Regions from separate parts of the Homo sapiens genome. Here region 2 is linked to region 1. Evidence: promoter capture Hi-C in 16 types of primary human blood cells and fetal thymus (Javierre and others, 2016). All regions are on one chromosome and are shown on one strand. The core of a region is centred on a gene start or on the middle of the fragment in contact, and the rest is flanking DNA. Distances in the headings are between cores, read along the strand shown. Region 1 overlaps KBTBD8 (kelch repeat and BTB domain containing 8). Region 2 holds the start of EOGT (EGF domain specific O-linked N-acetylglucosamine transferase).

What was found. The method cuts DNA at HindIII sites, captures the fragments that hold promoters and counts their contacts. A CHiCAGO score of 5 or more calls a contact.
Region 2: the fragment with the promoter of EOGT here is called in contact with a fragment that was not itself captured in region 1 in 1 of 17 cell types (erythroblasts); the score reaches 6.1 in erythroblasts.

The regions. Positions count from the first base shown.
Region 1 is chr3:67,008,021-67,014,879 of GRCh38, forward strand. KBTBD8 (kelch repeat and BTB domain containing 8) reads left to right here. Exons shown (of 4, transcript NM_032505.3): 4 at 1-3,190. The coding sequence ends at 365. Among named protein-coding and RNA genes, the nearest start is that of KBTBD8, 13 kb to the left of the region's middle. The HindIII fragment of the contact is 4,490 bases long and covers 2,289-6,778 here.
Region 2 is chr3:69,012,280-69,018,674 of GRCh38, forward strand. It overlaps EOGT (EGF domain specific O-linked N-acetylglucosamine transferase), which reads right to left and starts at 1,405. Exons shown (of 18, transcript NM_001278689.2): 1 at 1,295-1,405; 2 at 236-520. It overlaps EOGT-DT (EOGT divergent transcript), which reads left to right and starts at 841. Exons shown (of 1, transcript NR_185971.1): 1 at 841-5,774. RefSeq lists silencers at 723-1,272, 1,333-1,632. The HindIII fragment of the contact is 3,596 bases long and covers 1-3,278 here.

The sequences.
Region 1 (6,859 bases), core at 3,284-5,783:
ACTCTATCTACTACATAGCTGGAACCTGTGGAAATCATCAACGTATGTTTACTGTAGAAGCCTATGATATTGAGCTAAATAAATGGACTCGTAAGAAAGACTTTCCATGTGATCAGTCCATAAATCCATACCTTAAACTGGTACTTTTCCAGAACAAACTCCATTTATTTGTTCGAGCTACTCAAGTGACTGTTGAAGAACACGTCTTCAGAACCAGCAGAAAAAATTCCCTTTACCAATATGATGACATTGCTGACCAGTGGATGAAAGTGTATGAGACCCCAGATCGGCTCTGGGACCTTGGCCGGCATTTTGAATGTGCTGTTGCTAAACTGTATCCTCAGTGTCTTCAGAAAGTACTCTAAATGAGTAGCAGGCCTTAGTGCATCACTGGCATCTCATTCTTAGGAAACTTGTCTTTGATACAAAAGAGTGCTGACAGTATTTCAGAAAGCTGAGAGAGTTTTATACATGGAAAATGGGTATGCTTAAAGATTGCAGGGTAGGGAGGGATTTTCCTTCATCCTTGTGACATTTCATTTCAGTAAGGAAAAGATAACAAAGTGCAATTATCAGCATTTTTTTTTCCTGGCATAAAATTAATCATTTCATTTTATAATTTTGTGATAAATAGTAACTGAGGTACCAGATGAATCAGGACAACTATGCACTCTTATAAGAGCATTTAGGGTATTATTGGGTAAAGACGTCTAAACTTGTTTGATGTGACTTTTAATTTTAAATACGGGTAACAATCTGAGGCAATATCACTAGGACTTTAGCTGTGACCTCTCTAACACAGAGAAGCACTAACTTAGATCCTCATTCTTAATATTTATATGTATCTATTTTTGTGTACTGTTTTCAAGTGTACTGAGATTTAAATGTGTTCTATTATTAGAGTAGATCGAAGAAAAAATTAGTCTCAGAAAGAGCTTTTAGTCTGATTGTTTCCATTTCCCATGTAATTTTAAGTTAAGCTAAAGTTTTAAAGTGGCAGTTTTCTGTCGATGACTTTTTCAAGTGCTAACACTGTCTCTTTTGTGAAAATCTGGAAAAGTGCTCATATTCACAGGTGGCTGGTGCTAGTCTAACTTAATTCATGTGTATAACTAGATGGATTTAAATGGTCTGAGCCTATGCCTATCTTTCAAATTGGTGTGGATTTCATGGCCATAGTACTTTACCTGTTGAACTCTTGTGATTTCACAAGATTCTCTACTTATGTGATAGGAGGGTATGGCCAGTTATTCATCTAACTGGACTCAATCTTAGAATAGTAGGAACATTATACCCAGTTTGCACTAACATGGGCCATTTGTAGCCCAACCTTCTCTTCCATCTACCTGTCCATTCATTATTGGTACAAGGAAAGGTAACTTATTTCTCTTCTGCACAGAGCATAATGTGAAGTTTTATACCTACTTTTAAAATTCTGCTTTCCAGAAACAAAATTCCTGCAGTGGTCTAATTTAATGTCTTTAAGTTTCATATTACAATTAAAACCTCATTTTTTTTTTCCATTTTTGCACTTAACAGTGATGAATACTTTTACGTTGGAATCCTCCTTCTAGCTGAAGGTGATTGAAAAGGAAAAGAGTGAGTGAACAGAACCATAGCTTTCTAGGTACTAAAGCATTTTTTGCATTTAACTGATGAAATTTCTAACAATCATCAGTTAGGAATATTAACATGAAGGATAAACCAACTTATTTGTATACCTAAGGCAGGCATTTGGATCAGTAACATGTTTTACTAAGCCTAGAGTAATTCGTAAAGGGTATAAGCATAGGACAGATTTTGCCCTCAATCACAATATTTGTATTCACTTGAAAGCAAACTGGCATGGTTCGTATTTTAAAAATCTTGCACAAATTGTAATGTGATACTGTGAAACAAATTGAAAACATTGCCTCTTTGCATCACATACCTCGTTTTTCAGAAACTTTCCAAACTGCTTTACATAGACCTCTACAAGTAGGGAATGTTTTCTGAAGCAGAAGTTAAAATGGACAGCATTTCTAGAATTAACATTTTAAAATCTAGTCTTAGCTAGATATGTGGTTTCTTCTTATTGGTGTTGATAGTATGTCTGTAATCTCTGTATAAACTTTGTCAACATTTTTACCTCCCCAGTTTTATCTTCTGTTTTGTTTTTGTTTTTATCATCATGATGTTTTGGAGTTATTACTGTGTATTTTAGAAATCATTCTTTACAGTTTTGCATTGCTGAGGAGAGAGAAAAAACAATTTTTTTGCAAGAGATGTTCATGTAATTTATTTTTGAAAGCTTTGTTGAATAAGATTTCCTGCCGCTTTTTGACAATCTTGTGTATTTAGAAAAATGTATTACTTGAAAACATGACATAGAACATTGAGTTAGCAATTTACATGGGCTGTATGTTATATAAGAGAATGACATACTGTGGCTAATTCAACAGTAGATTTATTCTTTTAGCCTGCACAACAGTTGATCTTTTGGCTATGACAATTTGTATGGAGGGTACGATCTAAGTTAAGTGTGTCAAAAGCAAGGCTTAGGATTTGTTATGGGAGTAGAATATATATTGAATTTTGTATGAAGAACTATTTGTTTAAATTATATAGCTGGGATATTTTGCCACTGTTAAAATGGATTCAGAAGAGGTCCTAGAAAAGTAAGATTAGTGACATGTGTGGGTTTATATTTAGATATTTAAGGTGCATTTTCATAGTGTGGTAAGACCTTAAGTAAAAGGCACAATGGGTACTACAGAATTAAAATGTAGGTCTAACATAATGCCAGTTCCACTTTAACTTTGTTTTTGCATTTGAAGAATGTATGTAGCACTTTCCTATATATTTGTCACACATTGAAAACTGGACTGGGTATAACTATGTTATAGGAAAGTAGAAATTGTATTCTTTATTTTCCATCTTTGTTTTCTGTTCTACAAAGTTGATGCTTAAGCATCAAGCTGATTTTATTGGTCATGAGAACAAATGGATGTGATCATGAAGGAATCAGATTCCCTATGTAAAGCAGTTTAAAATGGAATTCAATGTTCAGTGCTCAGGTATGTAGTAAGTACTGTAGTCCTGTGGGGGCAAATGTGTAGATATTTTTAAACATTTTGCCATAATTGCACAATTTTTTGCATTTTTACCTGATGTCATTGTTTCTTATAATAAAACCTTTTCTGATTGAAAACTTCCAGTGTTGCAAAGTGATATCTGACTAGTGAGTGTTGCAGAATTAAAATCTGGTAAAAAATCATGAAATACCTTATGTCATGATAGAATGGAATGAGATTTTAATCTATTGAATACCTGTCCTCTGGTAAAAAATGAACTACTTTATGTATATAATACTTTTTAAATTCTAAAGCAAGTTAGTTCACTTATATTGGTAAATTCTTTGTTCTGTTTGTTCTGGCCTAAAATCTTGTTATGTTTGACTCTTTTGTGTTGGTCCACTTTGCATTACCGTAAAGGAATACCTGAGATTGAGGCCTCAGGAGGCTTTAGCTCATGGCAGAGGGTGAAGCGGGAGCAGGAAAGAGAGGGAGCCAGAGAAAGTTGGGGGAGGTTCCTGTCTCTTTAACAATGGGATCTCACATGCGCTCATTACCATAGGGAGGGCACCAAGCCATTGATGAAGAATCCACCCCCATGATCCAAATACCTTCCACTAGGCCCCACTTCTTCCAACACTGGGGATCACATTTCGACATGAGATTTGGAGGGGACAAATGCCCACACTATATAATCTCTTACGTATTTCATGTTTAATTCATCAGAAAGTCCCGTTGCTTCTTCCTTCATAATACATCCAGACTCAGACCACATACCATTTGCACCACTGTCACCCTAGTCTAAGCCAGCTTATCTTATCTGACTTAATGCAGTTTCCACTGACTGGTCTTCCTTCTATCACCCTTGACCCCTCATAACCTATTCTTTTCTCCACACAGTACTCAGAGTGATCCTCTTAAAACACAAGTCAGATCATGTTTCTCTTCTGCTCAGATCCTTCCAATGGCTTCCCATCTCCCTTCATATGACAGCCAAACTCCATACTTACATGATCCACCCCTCTCAAACTTGTTGCCATTTACTTGGCTTGCTCTATTTTAGCCACACTGACCTTGCTTGTTGCTCAAACCTGCTGAGCACCTCCACAGCGACTTTGCCCTTGCTGTCTCTTTTGCTGGATAGATCTTGACAACTCACTCACTTTCTTTTTTATTAAAACATCACCTTACTGGAGAGGCCTTCTCTGATCACATTTTGTAAAATAAGATCATCCAACCCCACCCCCATCATACCTCCTGCTTTATTTTTCTGCTTTATTTTCCATATGTGTCTTCCCCCATTGAAATGTACACTCCACAAAGGCAACGAATTTATTTTAATTCACTGTTGCACTTTAGATTGATGCCTAGCACATAGTAGGCACTCAATGAATGCTTGTGGGAAGAAATGAATTTTCAGTTAAGTCTTGGAGCCTAAAGGATTACCAATTTTATTGGTCTTTTCAAAAAAAAAAAAAACCAGGTTTAGTTCTAATGAATTTTCTCTATTGTTTTGTGTTTTCGGTTTCATTGATTTCTGTTCTAATTTTTATAGTTTTTTTTCTTCTGGTTGCTTTAAGTATTAATAACTCATCTTTCTATTTCTTTTCTTTTTTTTGAGACAGGGCCTTACTCTGCCCAGGCTGGAGTGCAGTGACGCAATCTTGGCTCACTGCAGTCACCTCCACGGCTCAAGAGATCCTCCCACCTCAGCCTCCTGAGTAGCTGGGACTACAGGCGCACGCCACTGTGACCAGCTAATTTTCATTTTTTTTTTTTTTTTTTTTTTTTTTTTTTGTTAATACGGGGTTTCACCATGTTGCCCAAGCTGATCTCAAACTCCTGGGCTCAAGTGTTCTGCCTGCCTCAGTCTTCCAAAGTGCTGGGATTATAGGCATGAGCCACTGTGACTGGCCTTCTTTTCCTAATATATGCATTTAATGCTATAAATTTTCCTTTAAGTATTTCTTTTGTAGAATCCCACAAATTTTATTTAGTATTTTCATTTTCTTAGTACAAAATATTTTTATCATGTCTTCTTGGGGAATATACCCTTTCATAATTATGTAATTGCTTCTCTTTATCCTTGATAATCTTTTTTCTGAAGTCTTCTCTGTTTGAAATTAACATAGCCACTCAAGTTTTCTTTTAATTACTGTTTGCTTCATTTATCTTTCTCCATCCCTTCTCTTTTAACCTATCCTAATCTTTATACTTAAAAGGGCTTTCTTGTAGACAACTTACAGTTGGGACTTATTTTAATATCCATTGTGAGAATACTGGTATGTTTAGACCAGCATTGCATTTAAAGTGAGTACTGATATAGTTGGGTTAATATTTAACATATTGGTTATTGTTTTCTATTTGTTGCCCTTCTTCTTTGTTTCTTTTTTTCACCTATTTTCCTGCTTTCTCTGGTTTTGACTGAGCATTTTATATAGGATTCTATTTTATCTCCTCTTAGCACTTCAATTATACTTTAATTTTTTTTTCAGTGGTTGCATTAGACTTACAATATACATTTCAAAACTAATCTAAGTCCACCTTTAAATAACACTATACTGCTTCGTGTGTAGTGTAGGTATCTTAGAACAAAGTTCCCAATTTTCCCCTCTGATCCCTCATGACATTGCTGTCATTCATTTTAGTTATCCATATGCTATAACCATGCAATACATTGTTATGATTAAAGTCATACTTTTAGATCAATTGATATTTAAAAAATAAGATATTTTACTTCATCTTCACTTATTCCTTCAGTATTCATTTATTTAGGCAGATCTAAGTTTCTGTTCTGTTTCAATTTTCTTCTGCCCAAATAACTTCTTTTATTGGGCATTGCTTGCAAGACAGATCTGCAGGTCATGAATTCCTTCAGATTTTTGTTTGAAAAAGTCTTTATTTCTCATGTTTCAAGGATAATTTTGCTGGATCTAGAATGCTAGGTTAGTGGGTGTTTTGCTTCAACTTTGTAAAGTGAGTAGCTTCTAATTAAATATCAGTGGTTTGGTGGGCCTGTGTCTTGGGGCTGTGATCTTCACAGGTGTTTCTCTAGTGGTACAGCTTTTGGTTTTCCCCTCTCCATCCTCTTTCTGGCTGTGCCATTCCCAATTTTATTTCTTTGAAGCCCTGACCCATGTTGATTAAATCCTTTTTCCTTTAGGTGAGAAGAGAAGGTTAGAGAGGTTTGGGATGGGAGGAATGCTCTTCCCCCTGCTTTTGTTGAACTCTGCCAAAATGTTTTTCCGTGGAGAGTATGCTTTTTAAATGGAAAAGGTTCTGGGTGTATTTCATGATCATTACTCTTCCTGTCCCCTAGTCAGAGCCACTAGGAGGTTTGTCTCAGATCTTTGCCATGAGAACCTGGTAGAGTGCCTGTTGGTAAAATCCACAGAAGCGTAGGGGCCCCAAAAGACTGAAGTTCCCAGGAGTTTTCCACTTTCATGGGAGTCCATGTTCAGCCTCAGCGATTCATCAAAAATGACCATTTAAGTGTTCTTACAGTTTACGGCTCTGGTTACTTCTGGTCAAGGTTAGCAGATCTGGACTGTGACTCTGAATTCACCTCTAATCCAGGGTAACATTTGCCCTGCAGCCTAATTTCTCTGATGGATCTAATAAAAGTCATTGATTGTCAGTTTGAATACCTTTTTCTTCCAAGGTTAGGAATGACAACATCCAGGATCTTTACATTTTCAGTGCTAAATGTGGAATCCCCTATAATAAGCTTCTAATACATATTTTTGATTGAATGATTCTTCAGTTATGCATAAATATCTTATGCCATCTTTTATATGTATAATGTT
Region 2 (6,395 bases), core at 155-2,654, 2.0 Mb after region 1:
TACTTAGTGGATCAAACATTCCCAGAAGCAAACAACTTTCCCATTCTCACAGCAGTAATCCCACTGGCTGAATCACAGGGCTACCCACCTAGAGTGGCGAGCCTGAGGGTTCCCAGGCCTTCCTATTTTTTGACTCGTCCTTCCCGGTAATAAAGTCATTGTTATGACCAAGCCCTGACCTTTGGTTATCCAAGTCCATTGTCCTCCAGTGAGCTCTGGCCATCACTAAACTCACCGATCAGTGGAGAAGTAACGCTTAGGCGATGGAAAAAATCTAAAGACGCAGATCAGAAAGCTGGCGTCTGGCGAGGGCATGTACCCACTTGCATAAGGCGGCTGGGGGTGGCTGCTGGGCCTGGCACAAAGCCTTCCTGGTGTCGGTCGTCCTGCAAGGCCCGCCGGGATGGGTGGCTGCACTCCTCCAGCACACGGACGCTTTACTGGCCAGGCTACTTTTCCTTCAGCTCAAAGCAGCTGGAATCACTCCACTCCAGAAACCCTTGATTCGATTTCCACAGGCCTAATGAGGAAGGAAAAAAGGGAAACATCTGAAAGATGATGGATAGGAGGCAAAACCTGGGGTTGACACAGCGGGCGAAATGGGGCAATGTCGCAGAGAGAGAGAGCTTGGAAAAGTTTAAAGACGGCAGTGGGCAAATGGAAAGTTCAACACGTGAGACCCCGAATGACACCTCAACGGCTGGCCCCTACTTGTGCCAAAAAGTCTCTCGGCGGGTGCCAGGCAGGGCTCAGGAAGTGCTCGGCTGCCCCTTGAACGTCAGTCCCGGCAGAGCCCAGCTGTCCGCTTGAACGTCAGTCCCGGCCAAGGGCTGAGGGGTCAGTGGCGAGCACCCCGCCGCGGCTGAGACGCCGCGCTGGGGTTCCGGACCCCGGGCGCCGCCAGGGATTGCTTCGGGGTCGGTGATCTCCCGGGGCCGCCCGCCACCGTGCACCGCGGCGCCCCGGGTCCCCAGCGCGCCTGGGAGGGGCCCCGGGGAGCGGCTCCGCCCCGGCTGGAAACCTGGTCAACGCGGCTAGGGCCCGGGGCCCGCCTGCGCTCCGGGCGCTGGGAAGGGGCCGGGCGCCCGGGGCCGGGGAGGGCCAGGATCGGCTTCCGACGCCCGCCTCCCGGCCCGCAGGGAATGGGAAGGCGCGGGCGGAGTGCGTGCGTAGGCTATAGCCCTCCGGGAAGCCGCGCCGGGAGCGGCTACCACCCGGGCAAGAACAGCGCAGAGCGCTGCGGCGGCGGGAAGGAGAGCGGGGGAAGGCTCCGCAGATTGCGGGGGAGTCCCACCTGGAGCCGGGGCAGCCGTGAACTACCGAGGAGGAGGCGGAGGAGACGGCGGCTGTTCCAGAGGAGGGAGTCGTCATAACCGGCTACTGCCGCTCACCGGAAACCTCGGGCGCGGGAGCTGGGCCAGGGGGCGCCAAGGAGCAGCTGGGACACCTTGGCCAGCCGGCGCCGTGGGCGGGCTCGGGCCCCGCAGAGGCAGGACCGGGACTACACCCAGGAGGGCCAGGGCGCGGGGCCCGACGCTCGGAGCGGCTTCAGCCCGGCGAGCGGCCTCGACCCGGCGAGCGCAGCAGGGAGGGGCTCAGAGTCGAGGAACCATCTGCCCTTCCTGGCGTTCTCCCGCGAACGTTCGCGCGAGTCCGCCAGCTCCCTCACCAGGGCCGGAAAGACCGACGGCACGTGCCGGCGCCGGACGCCCATCTCCATCGCAGCAGCCCGCGCCTCCTTGAGCGAGAGCGTTAAAGCGCTCAGAGGATGTTAGGACGGGGTGGGTAGAAAACCTGACTCTTCGTGTCTTCTGCGTTGCACTGAGGTGGATTTTTACTTTTGTCTTATTTCAAGCAGAAGTTGCCGCCCTAACTTCCAAATTTGGGGACTGAACATCGTTCACCGAATACACTTTGTGATGGTGAGGATACTTTGGAGTCCACACACATTTTAAAAGCAGTATAGTTTTACCTATCCGTAAACTCATCAAGTTCAAATGCTACTCTGTGGAGTTTAATTTTTATGGTTTTGTTAATTTACTTTATTACTGCTTATAATTATTTGAACTCCCATCCCCCACTGTCTTTTCCTCTAAGCTCCCCCAGGCCTAGTATTCCATCTACAGCACAGTAGAGTTGATCATTAAATAGTGACTAAAGTTGAACTGATTATATGAAGGTGATGACTTCAAAATAAACATGCTCAAATGAATATAGTCACCAGAAGTTAAATAATATGATCATAAGGAAACAAGTTTGTTTCCAAAGGCTTACATGCTTTTTACGTAATTTTTAAAAGTAATGTTGTTTAAGAATTGTTACAAGTTCCATTAGTGACCTGCTAAATTAGGAATCTTACCTGGAATTTTTTTCAAATAATAACAGCAAGAACATGTGGTGTTTAACATGTGCCAAACATTGTTTTAAAGCACTTTACAGTATTAATTTATTCTTTTTATTGAAAAGATTTTGCCTCTAAGGGAACTGTCAAGAGGCATGTGAACCGGAGCAACTCCATCTTAAATAGGAGCTGAGTAAAATGAGGCTGAAACCTACTGGGCTGCATTCCCAGGCCGTTAAAGCATTCTAAGTCGCAGAATGAGATAGGAAGTCGGCACAAGATACAGGTCATAAAGACCTTGTTGATAAAACAGGTTGCAGTAAATAAGCCGGCTAAATCCCACCAAAACCAAGATGGCCATGAAAGAGACCTCTGGTAGTCCTTACTACTATACTCCTATCAGCGCCATGACAGTTTACGAATGCCATGGCAATGTCAGGAAGTTACCCTATATGGTCTTAAAAGGGGAGGCATGAATAATCCACCTGTTTAGCATATCATCAAGAAATAACCATAAAAATGGGCAACCAGCAGCACTCAGGGCTGCTTTGTCTATGGAGTAGCCATTCTTTTCTTCCTTTACTTTCTTTTTTTTTTTCCTTTACTTTCTTAACAAACTTGCTTACACTTTGCCCTGAATTCTTTCTTGCTCGAGATCCAAGAACCCTCTCTTGGGGTCTGGATTGGGACCCCTTTCCTATAACAGAATTACTGCTCTATTATTTTATACTTTGCATACTTCACCATCCCACACTAATGACAGTAATTTTTTAAAATGCTTCCTCAAGCCAGGCACTGTGGCTCATGCCAGTAGTCCCAGCTACTCAGGATGATCGCTTGAGCCCAGTGAGGTTGAGGCTGCAGTGAGCCATGATTGAGACACTGCACTCTAGCCTGGGCCACAGTGAGACCCTGTCTCATAAAAAAAAAAAAAAAAAGCTTCCTCAGCCTACTTGCTACCATCCTATTTTTGTCACATACAAAAAGGTTAAAATCAGTATGACATGTGCATGGTACTATTTTATTTTATTTTTTTTGTAGAAACAGGTTCTTGCTATGTTCCCAGCACTTGTTTCCAACTCCGGGCCTCAAGTGATCTTCCAGCCTCGGCCTCCTAAAGTGCTGGGTTTACAGTTGTGAGCCACCACGCCTGGCTATGTGGTGCTATTTTAAACACCTACATATTGAATGGTCATTCAGACTTACAGGAAACCAGATATGATAAACCTGAACATGAGATTGAGTCTCTCTTACTGTAACAGCCATTCTCAAATAGAATTTCTCTCCAAAATACCAATGTTAGAATTTAAATTTTCTTTGAGCTGACATAAAACTCAAGTGTCTACCAATAGAAGGCTGGTTGAATAAACTATGGTTTATCCATACAATGTAAAACTATGCATGCATAAAAAGGAATTGAGAAATATCTCTGTACACTACAGAATATTGAGTGGGAAAAGGATATGTAATATGTAAATATCATTTTTCTAAGAGGAATATGTGTGTATACATGTGTATACACATATATATTTACTAATTATTATTTTACAAGTAGATTAACATTTAAAATGACTATATGGGCAAGGAGGGAAGAGGAGGGGTATAAGGAACAAAGAAGACATGACTTTGTTTTTTGGTGTGTGTGTGTGTGTGTGTGTGTATGTGTGTGTGTGTGTGTGTGACAGAGTCTTACTCTTTTGCCCAGGCTGGAGTACAATGGTGCAATCTTGGCTCACTGCAACCTCCATCTCCTGGGTTCAAGCAATTCTTCTCCCTCAGACTCCTGAGTAACTGCGATTACAGGCATGCGCCACCATGCCTGACAAATATTTATATTTTTAGTAGAGACGGGGTTTCACTGTATTGGCCAGGCTGGTCTCGAACTCCTGACCTCAAGTGATCCGCCCACCTCAGCCTCCCAAACTGCTTGGATTACAGGCGTGAGCCACCACGCCTGGCGTGAAGACATGACTTTGAAGTCATGTAAATATGTTACATTATAAAGCAAAATTCTGTTTTTAAAAAGCAATCCTTGAAAGTAAAATGAAACTAAATGAACCTAAATGTTTTCCAATTGTGGCATATCACCCAGAGGAGCTATCCCAAGTGACTTTAAAACTTAATTTGTATATACTTAGTGGGATGTATTCTCAGGACTAAAGTACAAAAAAACTCTTTTGTAGACTGCATTCCGTAACCAAATTGTTGGTGGCAATATTGGTATTATGGGATACACCAAGTTGAAGTAATTATGATGGTACCTTTGAAGCTGAAATTTTTGACATGAGATAGAAATATGAAAGCTTAATCAGGCTATATAAACATCCTGTAGTTCTGAATTTCAGTTGGAGGCCTCAGTATGATTAACAGTATGGTTAATCTTTAAAAACACATCTCTCCTACGTGCTCCATTGAAAAGGCCTAGAGACAAGCTACCCAGGAGGAAGAAGCACCCCCTTGCGCTCACACTGTGATCTCTACCAACCATTTCCCATTAAAAGAAACACTGACTCCATAGAACAATGGATGATCTTGGGTCTGGAGCAGGAAATGTACAAGATAAGCCTGCAACATCTTACATCAGGAAGCAGCAAAGCAATCAAAAGGCTATTAGGGTCATATCAAAAGGACTCAGGATCCACCTTGAAAACCTTCCTACTGGCCAAAGATAGGATGATTTAAAACATAAATAAAGGTAACTGTAATTGGATGAAGGACAGATACATTTAAGTAATCATATCAGACACGACCAATCAACCAAACATGCAAGCCAAAAAGGTATCGCTGTTCATTTTTAATGACAGAAGGAAACCAACTCTTATTCTGAAAACTGGTAAACAAAGGGAAAGAATCAGGAATATTTATACTGTCTTTCCTGTATGAATTATGATGCAAATAACAAAATAACTGAAGTAAATTTTTTATGGAAACATTCCAACTACTAAATGAAAAAGAAATGACAATATCACTCCACAAGCTCTGTGAACTAATAGATTTAAGAAGTGATCATCAATTATTTCTTTATCACAACTGAGAAACCATCAGGAATTATCTGTCTCCTGCTGGAAGAATACACTTCCACCTAATGAAGTATTTTTGTTGAAAAATAATTGCCTTTAGATTTAAACACAGGAGGCGGAACACACTAACAAAAGGTAAGAAATCAACATCCAGATGGAGGGAAACTATAGGACAAATGACCTAGTTTTTTCTACAAATAAGAAACTTCATCGAAATTGCAAGAATTAAGAAAAAGAGAGACAGAGATGGAAGAATGCATGGCTTAAAAAATTTGAGACAAATCCAACAAATTACAATGAGTAAATTGCTAACAATATCAGCAGAATGTAGTATACTGGTTCTCTCATCCAACTGTTAGACCATAATTAAAAGGTGTTGACATTTTTAATGAATAAATTTTGGCTGTAACTGATCTATATGCTTATGATTTTACAGAAAAGCAGTAGGAAAAGTAGCACCATATAATTAATTATTGAAATCATAGACTCTGGAGCCAAACTGCACAAATTAGAATCCCAGCTTTGCCACTTACTTGCCATATGACCTTGAGCAATTTACTTAATCTTTATTTTTAAAAATGGGGGTGATAATGGCATCCATTTTAAAAGGTTGACTTGATGATAAAGTGTGGGTACACACTTCCTTTTCCAAAATCCTTGGGTCCCTGTGTGTGTCTGAACTTTAAAAAATAGAATAGATATGCCCATCGTTTAACTTAATACCCCCCCCCCCCCACTGAGTCCTGGGTGAGTACCCCATAATCTCACACAGTATTTCTGCAGCAAAATGTATGAGTATTCACACCAAATGAGTTAAAGACTATACATAGCCCTATGTCAGTGCAGTGCAGGCTTTACCACCGAAGTAGATTTAACAGCAAATGTATTAAAATATGTATGGTTTTTAGAGCTTTGTGGATTTCAGAACAATGATTATGGGATTATAATCCTACATAAGTGAATTCCTTACACAGTGTTTGGAACAAAATAAGACTATGTTTCCCAAAAAAAGAAAAAAGAAGAAAAGACTATAT